Linked DNA regions of Homo sapiens: all the other regions are linked to region 1. The links are contacts of gene promoters, found by promoter capture Hi-C in human tissues and cell types (Jung and others, 2019). All regions are on one chromosome and are shown on one strand. The core of a region is centred on a gene start or on the middle of the fragment in contact, and the rest is flanking DNA. Distances in the headings are between cores, read along the strand shown. Region 1 holds the start of NGRN (neugrin, neurite outgrowth associated). Region 2 has its middle 25 kb from the start of CRTC3. Region 3 overlaps IQGAP1 (IQ motif containing GTPase activating protein 1).

Region 1 (4,615 bases), core at 792-3,291:
TTAAATAGTGGCCGCGGCCTAGAAGAGATTTTTTTCAGTTACCTCCTTCTTCCAACGCTCCATCCAAACTTACATAAAAATGTGGTAAGGGGCTGCTCTTCTCCTCTAGCCTAGATTTTGCTAGGACAGGCTGGGCAGTCAAGAACTGAAATCTATGAGTCTGGTCCTACTGGTGCTCCTAAGAGGGGCTGCCACAGAGCAGGGCGCTCCTCATTTCCTGCATCCAGTTCTGCCCCATGAATCAATCCCCAGGATCTTAGGGGCACTGCCAAGCATGAATGCTGCAATCCCACATGTTCCCCGGTACCATCTGCAGCCCAAGAACTTCAACTGGACAGGAGAGCCGGCAGCCATCAACTCCTGTTCATTGTCAATGAAGAAGGCTGGGAGGTGCTATTTTTCCAGTGCCAGAATCAGGCTCACTAGCCGTAAGTATGCAAAACTAGCTTTGGTCATTTTGACATATGTAAATCCCACTAGCAAGCATAGAGCTTGGATGCCCCTAAAATATAATATGGCACTTCCACCAGTGTAAGAATGGGGAAGTTAGGGTACCCATTTATTTACTCCTTTTTTTTTGAGACAAGGTCACGCTCTGTCGCCAAGGCTGAAGTACAATGGCTTGATCTCACTTCACTGCAAACTCCACTCACGGGCTCAAGTAATTCTCCTGACTCAGCCTCCTGAGTAGCTGGGACTATAGGCACACACCACCATGCTCGGCTAACTTTTGTATATTTTGTTTTTGCCACGTAGCCCAGGCTGGTCTTGAACTCCTGATCCACCTGAATCAGTCTCCCAAAGTGCTAGGATTACAGGTGTAAGCCACCGCACCAGGCCTATTTAATCCTTTCTGTACACTAGACCCTGGTGATAGAAATGGCAGAAATACAGTCCCAGCACTCAAGAGGTAATAGGAACATGGACAAAAAGACATACCATACCAATTACAATACAGTGTGGGAAAGACAGTGGAGGGAAGCATGAGATGCCCTTCCTCTGTGTTGGTAATTGGGCCACAGTTGGGAAAGAGGTGAACAAATCTCTTCTGTGAATACCAACTCAGGGACATCCATGTTTCCACTGCAGAAGGACAAGCCAGCAGAAGGCTAGAAGCCATAAACCGAGTCCTGGCAGGATCAGTGCCACCCACTTTAACCCCAAAGCAGGGCTATTTTCTGCAACCGGAAAGAGTGGCATCTGACTCATGGACTGAATGCACCTTGCCCTCCATGGTAAACTCTGAACACAGAGCAGCCAAGGTTCCCCTCTGCCCTGCGTCTGCACCCATGCTGCAGCGTTCCAGAGCACTCCTCAACATCAATCAGTTCAGGTAAAAGCAGGAGGGAAGCACTCTACCTCTCCTGGATAACCTCCCCAGGTTTCCAAAGGGCATTAAATCTTTGCTAAATGAATGACTGCCACCAAGTTCCACTTTGAAAAGCCCTGCCCAGGAACCCCATTTGTATAAGGCAAAATACAAAGACACCAAGAATTCCTCAATACCCTAAGATTAATTGGGGATCGGTAAAGACTAGAAGATGAAGAGGCGCCAAGGCCAGCCATGTACTCATTTCTGCTCATCAAGCCTTAGCCTGGGTTTATCGCTAGGTGATGGGTCTGAACCCTAGGTGCGGCCCGGGGCTGGAGGCCATCCAGGAGACAATGAGCCCCTTTCCCAGAGAAGCCGAGTGCCCAAGGCACTGGGCTGTCGCCGTCAGAAGACTGCCGAGCGGAAGCCCTGCCCACCGAGGTGGCGGAGACAGGCAGGCCTGGGCAGCCGCTGGGGCGGAGGGACGGCTCTTGGAAACGGAATCCGTACTTTAATTAAAGTTTATGCAGTTTTCCAGGAGCGTCCTGTACCTCATTTCGGCCCTCACGTTTCAGGGAAGCCCTCTCCACAGTTACAGGCAGAAAGGGTGGGCCACTGAGCAGCGTGAGCCCAGATCTTACCCCCACCAAGTGAAGCGGGAAATAACTTGCTACTACCCAGCCTCCGGCCCGCCCCTTCCACTTCCGGTCTTACCCGGCTACTTCCGCTGCTGTTTCGTAGCCGACTGCTGAAGGCTGGTTTGCGTCGACATGGCGGTTACCCTGAGTCTCTTGCTGGGCGGGCGCGTTTGCGCCGCCGTCACTCGCTGTGGGTTCGCGACCCGGGGGGTGGCGGGCCCAGGCCCTATTGGCCGGGAGCCGGACCCCGATTCCGACTGGGAGCCGGAGGAACGGGAGCTGCAGGAGGTGGAGAGGTACCGGCTTCTCCCCGGGCCCTCAGCTTGAAGCAGGGCCTCGTGCCCCGGCGCTCCAGGCCGCGCCCCCTTGGCGCCGGGTGTCCTGCCGCTGCTTGCGCAGCGGCCCTTGTTTCTTCTTACCCGTTGTTAGGGGCGCAGCGTCAGGTGTTCAGCTCCCCTGGGACCACTGGTCCCTTCATTAGTGACGTATTTCATCATCAGTTTAGAGAGTTCGGCATGCTTACAGGCAGTTATTGTTCTAGGTGTTAGCTTTCTGGGTGTACGGAGCAGCTCTAAGCCGGCAACATGGCCCGGTTGCCCTTGCGATCAAAGAGAAGAGGGCTGGGCGCTCCATGATTTAGCCTGAGGCTCTTCAAACATCCATTCTGCTTCCACGCATGGCTTCTGCCATTGGTTCTCTTCCCCCAGCACCCTGAAACGACAGAAACAAGCAATCCGATTCCAGAAAATTCGGAGGCAAATGGAGGCGCCTGGTGCCCCGCCCAGGACCCTGACGTGGGAAGCCATGGAGCAGATACGGTGAGACTCAGGATACCTTGTTTGTATCCGCTGTGATGAGAAGTGAAGGATGCTGGAGCCCAGAAACGGGTTTGGCTTTTTTGATACTGCTTTTATATTTTCGTTTACTTTTTGTCGTTGAAATTTATTATCAGAAAAGTAGAGTAATATAACGAACTTCCCTAACCCTGTCATTATCTAGATTTAATAGTGTTTTGTTTTGTTTTTTAAAGAGACGGGGTTTCGCTATCGCCTCGAACTCCAGACCTCAAGTGATTCTCCCGCCTCGGCCTCTCAGAGTGCTGGGATTACAGGCATGAGCCACTGCGCCCCGCCTGGTTTTAATAGTTTTTAACGTTATGACGTGGTTGGTTCATTTTTACTGAAATTTTTAAATAGTAAATCGCAGACATCACAACATTTAACCCTTGAATGTAGGTTGTGACGTTCCCAACCTAAGGTACAGGGATGCTGGTGCTTCCATAGGTAGGTGCATTTTTCTGAAGACAGGATCTATAATTTAGGAAAGCTTAAAAGAGTTTTTAAGTTTTTTTGTTTTGAGTAGGTAAAGTATTACATATGGCTCAACCTAACAGTATAACATGGTATACACATTGAGAATTATTTGTCCCACCCACTCTCCTGTGGGTACTTTTTTTTTTTTTTTTTGGTAGTTGGGGGTCTCACTCTGTCGCCAAGGCTGGAGTACAATGATGTGATCACCGGTCACTGCAGCCTCTACCTCCTGGGCCCAAGCCATCCTCCCACTTCGTCCTCCCAAGTAGCTGGGACTACAGGTGCATGCCACCATGCTTGGTTAATTTTGTTTATTTTTTGTAGAGATAGCCTCATCATGTTGCCCATGCTAGTCTCCAATTCCCAGGGCTCAAGCGATCATCCCACCTCAGCCTCCTAAAGTGTTGGGATTACAGGCATGAGCCACTGTGTGCAGCTGTACTATTTTTAATAGTTTTTCTCTACCAAAAACTAGGCTCTGTGCCCTGAGTGAGCCACTGCGCCTGGCCCTCAATTCTTTTTTTATAGATGGTGTTATTATATTTTTTTGAGGCAGTATATGAGGCAGTATATGACAGTGGTTTTTAATTTTTATTTAAACAATTTTTTCTCCTATTTATTTATTTGACAGAGATGGGGGTCTCACTATGATGACCAGGCTGGTCTCAAACTTCTGGCCTCAACTGATCTTCCCATCTCGGCCTCCCAAAGTGCTGGGATTAGAGGCGTAAGCCACCATGCCTGGCCAGAATGCATTATTTAACCTGTCTTTTATTGTGGGCATTTAGTTGGGTTGTTTCCATTTCTGTTGCTCACTAATAGTGCCCCAGTGAATAACTACGTATGTGTATCATTCTGCATACCTGCCAGGAATATTTGTTATATACATTCCCAGAAGTAAGGTTGCCAGGTCAAAAGACAAATGCATTTGCAATTTGATAAATATTGCTAAGTAGCCCTACATAGATTATGTACTATTTTTCATTTCCATCAGAATGACTCTGGAATTGAAATTTAAAATAAAGGGGATTCTGTAGAGCTGCTCAAGATTTTGTGAGCCTGTAGCACCTTCTGAGTCCTCAGTCAGGTCTAGCTCCTCTTTTTTTCGTTTGTTTGTTTGTTTTTTGTTTGAGGCAGTCTCACTCTGTCGCCCAGGCCAGAGTGCAGTGGCGAAATCTCAGCTCACTGCAGCCTCTGCCTCCAGGTTCAAGAGATTCTTGGACCTCAGCCTCCCAAGTAGCTGGGATTACAGGCGTGCACCACCACACCTGGCTAATTTTTGTATTTTTAGTAGAGACAGAGTTTCACCATGTTGGCCAGGCTGGTCTCAAACCCCTGACCTCAGGTGATCC
Region 2 (4,615 bases), core at 1,039-3,538, 240 kb after region 1:
GTTGAAATAAGGGGGGAAACGGAATAATTCTAAAATAGGGAAAATGAAAAATTGGAGGTGATGGTTTGTACGAGTGGTTGGAGATGACCGCATGCTCCTCTGAGGAAGAGTGAGGGGAAGAGCATGGCTCTCCTGGTGGGACTCTGGAAGGTACCCTTCTGAGCCCCAGGTTTCTCGTTCTGAAATGGAAAGGATGCTGTCTGGTAGCTTTGTTATTGAAACCTGAAATATTTTAATAATATGCTCTATATTGTCCTGCAAAGAAATCAAGGGAGTTAGAAAAGTGCTTATCAGGACTGGGTGCAGTGGCTCATGCCTGTAATCCCAGCACTTTGGGAGGCCAAGGCGGGTGGATCACAAGGTCTGGAGATCGAGACCATCCTGGCCAAGATGGTGAAACCCTGTCTCTACTAAAAACTACAAAAAAAATTAGCTGGGCGTGGTGGCGCATGCCTGTAGTCCCAGCTACTCAGGAGAATGAGGCAGGAGAATCGCTTGAACCTGGGAGACAGAGGCTGCAGTGAGCCGAGATCATGCCACTGCACTCCAGCCTGGGGGACAGAGCGAGACTCTGTCTCAAAAAAAAAAAAAAAAAAGAAAAGTGCTTATCGGCCGGGCACGGTGGCTCACACCTGTAATCCCAGCACTTTGGGAGGCCGAGGCAGGGAGATCACGAGGTCAAGAGATCGAGACCATCCTGGGTAACACGGTGAAACCCCATCTCTACTAAAAATGCAAAAAATCAGCTGGGCTTGGTAATGGGTGCCTGTAGTCGCAGCTACTCAGGAGGCTGAGGCAGAAGAATGGCATGAACCCGGGAGGTGGAGCTTGCAGTAAGCTGAGATCGTGCCACTGCACTCCAACCTGGGCAACAGAGCGAGACTCCATCTCAAAAAAAAAAAGCTTATCAAGGTATAGCAACATTAAATAAGAAAAATAAGAGGGAAAATCAGAGTAGGGGCTGGACGTGGTGGCTCACACCTGTAATCCCAGCGCTTTGGGAAGCCAAGGCGGGTGGATCGCTTGAGATCAGAAGTTGGAGACAAGCCTGGCCAACATGTTGAAACCCTGTTTCTACCAAAGATACAAAAATTAGCCCGCGTGGTGGTGCGCACCTGTAGTCCCAACTACTTAAGAGGCTGAGGCGGAAGGATTGCTTGAGCCTAGGAGGTTGAGGCTTGTGGTAAGCCATGATTGCACCACTGCACTCCATCCTGAGTAACAGCAACACCCTGTCTCACAAAAAACAAAAAGAAAAAAAAGTAGGAAAGTAAGATGGAACCCAGAGCAATGGCAGAGTGAATGCCATGGAGTCCCAGCTGCTGCTGGTGGTGCCACTGCACCAACGGGGAGGGAGACGGGGTTGTCACAGCCCTGCTGCTCATTCTTTTGCCTGTGTATCCCTGAAAATAATTTGGGAAAACGTATACATCCCTTCACACATTTTAAGTTTGACAAATACATTTTTAATGTTTAAATCAAGAGTACCTGCTAGCATGTGAATTTTAATATAAAAATGACCATAAAAATATCGAATGGAACCCACCTTCATTCATTTTTAAAGGTACATGAACAAAGCTCTTAGTTGGAAATTTCTTTTTTATTTCTTTTTTATTTTATTTTATTTATTTTTGTTTGAGACAGAAGTCTTGCTCTGTCGCCCAGGCTGGAGTGCAGTGGCGTGTTCTCGGCTCACTGCAACCTCCACTTCCCAGGTTCAAGCGATTCTCCTGCCTCAGCCTCCTGAGTAGCTGGGACTACAGGCGGCTGCCACCACACCTGGCTAATTTTTTGTGTTTTTAGTAGAGACGGAATTTCACCATGTTAGGCAGGTCTCAAACTCCTGACCTCAAGTGATCCGCCCACCTCGGCCTCCCAAAGTGCTGGGATTACAGGTGTGAACCACTATGCCTGCCCCTGGAAATTTTAAATCTTTACAAATTTAACGTTTTTTTTCTCTACTCTGCTTCCTTCAGAATTTTACCCTAGTGAAATATTTTAAAGGACATCTTATTTTTGGTCATCTGTAACAAAAATAAAAATTTGTTTTCGTGACCATAAGCCTATTAACCCAATCTAGAAAAACATTTTGCATAGTTACAGTTATTAGTGCATATTTGATTGCAGTAATTTTTTTTTTTTTTTTTTTTTTGAGTTGGAGTCTTGCTCTGTCGCCCAGGCTGGAGTACAATCTTGGCTCACCACAACCTCCGCCTCCCAGGTTCAAGCAATTGTCCTGCCTCAGCCACCCGAGTAGCTGGGATTACAGGAGCCCTCCACCACGCCTGGCTAATTTTTGTATTTTTAGTAGAGATGAGGTTTCACCGTACTGGCCAGGCTGGTCTCTTGGCTAGGCTGGTCTCGAACTCCTGACCTCGTGATCCGCCCACCTCGGCCTCCCAAAGTGCTGTGATTACAGGTGTGAGCCACCGCACCCGGCCCAGTAATGTAATATTTTATCTTGACAATTCTAAAAGATATTTGAAATGCATTTTTTTATTTTGTCATTGGTATCTAATGAAATGCATTTATTGATGAGATAAATGAAAGTCTTTTAAAATGAAAGTTTAAAAACATGGTAGACAAATATTCTTGCTAGAATGAGATGGGGCTCATGACCAATTCTATTTCTATTTTTCATTTTTATAACTGTAAGCTCCGAGAAACATTGGGGTGTTTCATTACAGCAGTGTCACACATTTCTCAGGACTCCTTAGTAACTAATCCAAAAGACTCAATGATTTATAATAAGTTATAACATGAATAGGTTCTCCAACTTTGTTGAAAGCAAAAGTTAAAAAAAGATAATTACCTAATTTGGAGAATTTATTATGCATGCAAACATTATTCACTTTCTCAGGACTTGGGAAGTAGACAAGGGGATTTACCAAGACTTTTAAAGTAACCCAATTATAACTCTTTTTTTCTTTTTTTTTTTTTTGAGATGGAGTCTCGCTCTGTCGCCAGGCGGGAGTGCAGTGGCGTGATCTCGGCTCACTGCAATGTCTGCCTCCCGGGTTCAAGCCATTCTCCTGCCTCAGCCTCCAGAGTTGCTGGGATTACAGATGCCCGCCACCACGCCCAGCTAATTTTTGTATTTTTAGTAGAGATGGTGTTTCACCATGTTGGCCAGGATGGTCTCTATCTCCTGACCTCGTGATCTGCCCGCCTCGGCCTCCCAAAGTGCTGGGATTACAGGCATGAGCCGCGGCGCCAGCCTATACTCATAACTCTTTAACTTAAAGATAGCTTATTTAATCCAATATGTTAATACGCTTGGGAAAACAGAAATATTTTAATACTCCTTTGGTACTATAATTTTTTAACTTTTATTGCAGGGAACTTTCAACATATAAACGGGGAATAATGTAATGAGCACCCATGTGTCCATCATGCAGCCCAGCAATTATCAACACACAGTTAAGCTTATTTCACCTGTACCTCTGCCCAAACCCTCTTGGGTTACTTTGACAAAACCCAGGTATAGTATCATTTCAACCATAAATACTGCAGTACATGTCTCTAACACAGTTTTTTTTTTTTTTAATCACAGAAGATATTTGGCTGTTTGGAAATATTTTTAATTGGCCTGACGAAAGAGGTGCTACTGGCATCTAGTGGGTAGAGGTGAGGGATGCCACTTGACATCTTTCAGTGCAACAGGACAGCCCACTGCAACCAAGAATGATCCAGCCTCAAATATTAATAATGCCTGGGGTGAGACGCTGCTCTTACAGATAAGGACTTAAAAAAAATCCCCATCCCATCATCACACCTAACAAATTATTTTAAAATATCAAATTATTTTAAAATATCACACCGTTTAAATATCACCATTTACATTTTTAATTTAAATTTTTAAATTTTAAAATATCACCGTTTAAATTTCCCCATTCATCTTATCATTGTTCAGTTTGTATTTTTGAATCAGGTGCCAGACAAGATCCATGCATTACATTTAGTTGATAGGTCTCTTAAATATCTTTTCCTTTTCTTTTTTTTTTTGAGACAGAATCTCACTCTGTTGCCCAGGCTGGAGGGCAGTGGCTTGATCTCAGCTCACTGCAACCTCAGCCTCCCAGGTTCAAGTGATTCTCCTGCCTCAGCCTCCCGAGTACCTGGGATTACAGGTGACTGCCACCACACCCGGCTAATTTTTTATTATTTTTAGTACAGACGGGGTTTTGCCATATTGGCCAAGCTGGTCTCAAATTCCTGACCTCAAATGATCCGCCTGCCTCGGCCTCCCAAAGTGCTGGGATTTTACAGGTGTGAGCCACCACGCCCGGCCATATATAATTTTTTGAATGCTCAAATTGTCCCCTCTTTGACCAATAAATTTCCTTCACAGTGACTGTTGAGTACTTTTGACGTGACCCTAGTAATCTTTGATAGTTTCCTTGATTTCTAGCATAAGACGTTCCAGGCTCATCTTATTGCATTTCTCAGCCCCAGACCTGGAATCCACCATTTTTCTGTGGAGCCCTGGTTACTGTTAGCGGGTAATGGTATTTCAAGGATGCAGTCTGGGTGGGTGCTAGGGGTGTTCCTCACCGTTAGATTGGTCATTGTGTCCTTTTTTTTTTTTTTTTTTTCTAGAGACAGGGTATCGTTC
Region 3 (4,615 bases), core at 1,477-3,976, 220 kb after region 1:
TCTGCTGACTCCTTGAAAGGGCTTATCTCACCAGCCATGGTAGCTCACGACTGTAATCCCAGCTCTTTGGGAGGCTGAGGTGGGAGGATTGCTTGAGCTCAGGAGTTTGAGACCAGCCTGGGTAACATAGGGATACCTTGTCCCTACTTAAAAAAAAAAAAAAAAAAAATTAGCTGGGTGTGGTTGTGCACACCTGTAGTTCCAGCTATTCCAGAGGCTGAGGCAGGAGGATAGGTTGAGCATGGGAGGTTGAGGCTGCAGTGTGCCTTGATGGCGCCACTGCACTCCATCCTGGTTGACAAAAAAAGAAAGAAGGGGCGTTTCCTTATTAGGAATCATTTGGCATCTGATTGGTTCTCAGTACCATGTAGGTCTGTTATCAGGACTCAGATCATTGCAAAAGTCTTTTTAATTTTTTTGCCTGCATACCTGAGGCCCACATCCAGGAATGTGGTCAGCCAAGTGCAATACTTGTCTGGGAAGTTTTGCCTGCAACCCAGGGCATTCCTTGCCGATAGCCCCATGTACACTGGCTCCGGGCTTCTCAGTTATTTCCTCTGATGGTCCATGAGTCAGTCATTTTCAGATCCAAAGCCCGCTGGACATTTCAGGATTGGTTTTCTTGTGGGTACCTATAAGAAACTGGTGTCTTATTTTGCCTTTCATAAAATGGAAATTGAGCCAGGCATGGTGGCATGCACCAGTAGTCCCAGTTGCTCAGGAGGCCAAGACAGGAAGATCGCTTGAGCCCAGGAGTTTGAGCACTGCCTGGGCAATGTAGACCCCATATCTTAAAAAAAAAAAAAAAAAAAAAGGAAATTGATTTGAACTCTTTTTAAGATACCAGTGACTGTGAGGGATGGTGGTGTGGTGGGGATCTGTCCTGCAGGTAAGCATCACAGGTCCCTTAGCTTTCTTCTTTTACTTCAGCCACCATACACGTAGCAAACTGGAATCTTGTCACCTCTTGGGAATGTTCTTTCCTAAAATCTCAAAGTTAATGTTCTGTTCTATCACCAACGTTTTTTAGCATATTGATTCCCTTGCTGGTTACTACTTTTAAAACTCATATAAATAATAAAATATACAATATTCTTTATTGTTAAGTTCCATGTATTTATTTATTTCTCATAGAATGTTTCTGTTGATTTTTGCAGAATTTTTGTGTTCATAGTCTACCAATTTTAATTTAGCCATGCTATGACAAATGAAGAGGGGTATCCCTATCTACTTGTATTTTTCTTTTTGTTGTTGTGGTTGAGACAGAGTCTCGTTCTGTTGGTCAGGCTGGAGTGCAATGGTGTAATCTCAGCTCACTGCAACCTCTGCCTCCCTGGTTCAAGCGATTCTGCTGCCTCAGCCTCCCGAATAGCTGGGATTACAGGCATGCGCCACACGCCTGGCTAATTTTTGTATTTATAGTAAAGATGGGGTTTCTCCATGTTGGCCAGGCTGGTCTCAAACTCCTGACCTCAGGTGATCCACCCGCCTCGGCCTCCCAAAGTGCTAGGATGACAGGCGTGAGCCACCACACCCGGCCTCTACTTGTATTTTCTAAGGCTGCCATAACAAATCACCTCAAATTGGGTGGCTTAAAACAACCGAAAGTCATGGTCTCACAATTGTGGAGGCCAGAAATTTGAAACCATTATCATGAAGTCGAGGTGCTGGAAGAGCCACGCTCCCTGCAGAGGCTCTAGTGGAAACTCTGTTTCTTGACTCTTAGAGCTTGTGGTGACTGTTGACATCCCTCAACTTGTGGCTGTGTGGTTCCAGCCTCTGCCTTTGTGGTCACATTGCCTTCTCTTCCCCTTCTGTGTGTACCAAAGCTCTCTCTGCCTCTTTTTTTTTTTTTTTTTTTTTTTTTTAAGACAAGGTCTTGCTCAAGCAGTCCTCCCACCTCAGCCTTCCTAGTAGCTGGGAATGCTAGCATGTGCTGCTGTGCCTGGCATAGCACTCCTATCCTTGAAGACCTCCTTCTGGTTTCTAACAAAGTCCAGATTTGTCAGTATCATATACGGGGTCTGTCATGGCCTGCTCCCTGTCTGCTTTTCCACTGTCATTTCTCCTGTCTCCCCTTCCTTCCTAGAAGACTCTTCCTCTCCTTTTTTCCTGAGTTCAAGCATCCCTTCGTTTTGGAAGCTTTCCTTGCTTTTTCCATTCTGAGTTGAAGCCCTTTCCCTATGGTCCTGTGGCACTTTTGGTGAACTGATTTACAGCACAATAGGTTTATAATCATCTGTTTGTGTGTCGCTCCCACCAGACTGTAAAAGACTGAAGAGAAGGTGTCATGTCTTGTATAACTTTTATTCCCAAGTGCCTGTTATTGTGCCTGGCACACAATTCAGGCACCTGATTCACAGTTAAAAACCTGCGTTCAGATTCTAGACTTATCACTTACCAGCCCCGTGAGGATGAGCTTAAGCTATCTAATATTTCTGGGTCTTATAGTTTATGAAAGATAAGACACTTGCTTCAGGCTGTTCCTGGCTGTTAGTCTAACATAGTTGGGTATAATTTCTGTCTTCCCAGCAAACTGCCCTATGATGTGACCCCTGAGCAGGCGCTAGCTCATGAAGAAGTGAAGACACGGCTAGACAGCTCCATCAGGAACATGCGGGCTGTGACAGACAAGTTTCTCTCAGCCATTGTCAGCTCTGTGGACAAAATCCCGTGAGTGCCATCAGTTGTCATGACCCCCAGTAGAACCCAGCACTAAGTGCCTTTCTGCTCCTTGGCCCTTCTCACTAAGTTTTGTCCATCCCGCAGTTATGGGATGCGCTTCATTGCCAAAGTGCTGAAGGACTCGTTGCATGAGAAGTTCCCTGATGCTGGTGAGGATGAGCTGCTGAAGGTAAGAATCTCATAGCCGGCAGACTCCTGCCCTTTGAGGACAAAGCAATAAAACCAGGGCTGACCATAGATCATTACTAACTGCCTAAGTGTAGGTTCTGGCAGTAGCTTACCATTGATTGTGAGCTTTTGAAAGCAATTGTAATTGGTAAATGGTACCTCTCTTAGGATGAAACACTTCCTATAGTTTGGCACACAAACATCAAACAAGTAGAAAGATGGATTTTTCCTGTTTTCAGATGAGTTTCTTTGAGTCCTATCTTTTCGCTGTAGTATTGTTCCCTCTGCTGGTGACCTGGCGAATAGTAGCAGGCACAGTTGTTTCTGCTAAGGCTGTTGCTGATAACTCTTTCTTACTCAGCTATGCTCTTCTCTTTTCTTTTTTTTTTTAATCTGAATGCTTTTTTCTTCTCTCTCCTAGTTCTGTGCTTTCCTACAGTGAGGCCTCGATTCTAGACTTTCTGTTCAGGTGAATTAATTTTATTTCTTCTGAATGAAACTCTAGGGGAAATGCTGTGACTGCCCCTGAATTCTTCTGTGGAAGAGATGTGTGTTAAGTGAATTTAATTTCAGAGGCATGAACTTGGCCTTTGAAGTCTGCAGCATGAGAATGTTGGGAGGTGGGGTTACTCTATGCTGATTGGGTCATGTTAAGGAATTTAGCTATGTTTGTTAGCTTTTTATAAGGAAAGCCCATCTACATGAAAGTACAAAGTGCATGTGGGTGACAGCAGCCTTATTTGCTACCATGATATGTGAACAAAAGATGCCCTGAAATACTTAATAACAGACTTTAAGTGTGTCATTTTTACCTTCTGAATCTGCTCTTTCATTAACTACTGGCAGTAGTTTTCAGTTCTGTTCTCATTGTTTTCCTGTATTGAACAAAGGGATATTTCATTTAGTTCCAGGCCATGAGAGAGAGTGTGTATATGTGCATGCATGCGTGTGTATATGTATTTTTTATTTATTTTTTCCTCATAGGACTGCATTTTCTGCTTTTCTTTGCTAGCAAAGTCATTTATAGCTTCCTTGGTGGTATGTCTTTTAATACCCATCTTTCTGTTTCGTCTGTTCCAGATTATTGGTAACTTGCTTTATTATCGATACATGAATCCAGCCATTGTTGCTCCTGATGCCTTTGACATCATTGACCTGTCAGCAGGAGGCCAGCTTACCACAGACCAACGCCGAAATCTGGGCTCCATTGCAAAAATGCTTCAGCATGCTGCTTCCAATAAGATGTTTCTGGGAGATAATGCCCACTTAAGCATCATTAATGAATATCTTTCCCAGTCCTACCAGAAATTCAGGTAAGGGGAAAGGCACAAGTGCTTAAGAGAGTCTGTGGATGTATTTTTATTGTTGAGGGGAAAAATAAGATTAAAAACCACCTCTCACTTTCCCCGGACTGCCATATGTAGAAGACGTGTTTGATGTGCCCAGGATTCCAGAAGATGATCCATTTACTTTGAAGAGAATTTTCATATGAAATAGATAGTAGTTAACACTTATGAAATAGATAGTAGTTAACATAAAAATAATGATGATTATGCATTTAGTACATGTTACCTTGTAATCAGAGAAGAATTGGAGAATGCTTTTAATTTTTGTAAATTAACATCTAGTTTTGAATTCAGTGCTTCAGAGCACTGTCTTAGAGATAGAATTGGTTCTCCTAATGGTGTCTGGAAACTTTTAAGTCATGGTGCAATGGTTCTTATGGGTAAAACTAAAACTACAAACTAGGTGGAGAAAGAAG

What was found. Contacts are between HindIII fragments. The study calls those that stand out against the background at their distance.
Region 2: a fragment that was not itself captured here is called in contact with the fragment with the promoter of NGRN in region 1 in 3 of the 25 tissues and cell types used here (IMR-90 fibroblasts, bladder and lymphoblastoid cells).
Region 3: a fragment that was not itself captured here is called in contact with the fragment with the promoter of NGRN in region 1 in 1 of the 25 tissues and cell types used here (hippocampus).

What each region holds. Positions count from the first base shown.
Region 1 is chr15:90,263,631-90,268,245 of GRCh38, forward strand. NGRN (neugrin, neurite outgrowth associated) reads left to right here and starts at 2,042. Exons shown (of 3, transcript NM_001033088.3): 1 at 2,042-2,246; 2 at 2,658-2,768. The coding sequence starts at 2,083. It overlaps TTLL13 (tubulin tyrosine ligase like 13), which reads left to right. Exons shown (of 15, transcript NM_001396017.1): 14 at 317-428; 15 at 1,090-1,847. The coding sequence ends at 1,337. It also overlaps a transcript of CIB1 not described here. RefSeq lists enhancers at 1,054-2,025, 1,513-1,642, 2,003-2,232, 2,026-2,996. The HindIII fragment of the contact is 14,519 bases long and covers 1-4,615 here.
Region 2 is chr15:90,503,091-90,507,705 of GRCh38, forward strand. No RefSeq gene overlaps it. Among named protein-coding and RNA genes, the nearest start is that of CRTC3, 25 kb to the right of the region's middle. The HindIII fragment of the contact is 5,406 bases long and covers 1-4,615 here.
Region 3 is chr15:90,479,428-90,484,042 of GRCh38, forward strand. IQGAP1 (IQ motif containing GTPase activating protein 1) reads left to right here. Exons shown (of 38, transcript NM_003870.4): 27 at 2,533-2,673; 28 at 2,770-2,854; 29 at 3,934-4,166. Among named protein-coding and RNA genes, the nearest start is that of CRTC3, 48 kb to the right of the region's middle. The HindIII fragment of the contact is 5,949 bases long and covers 1-4,615 here.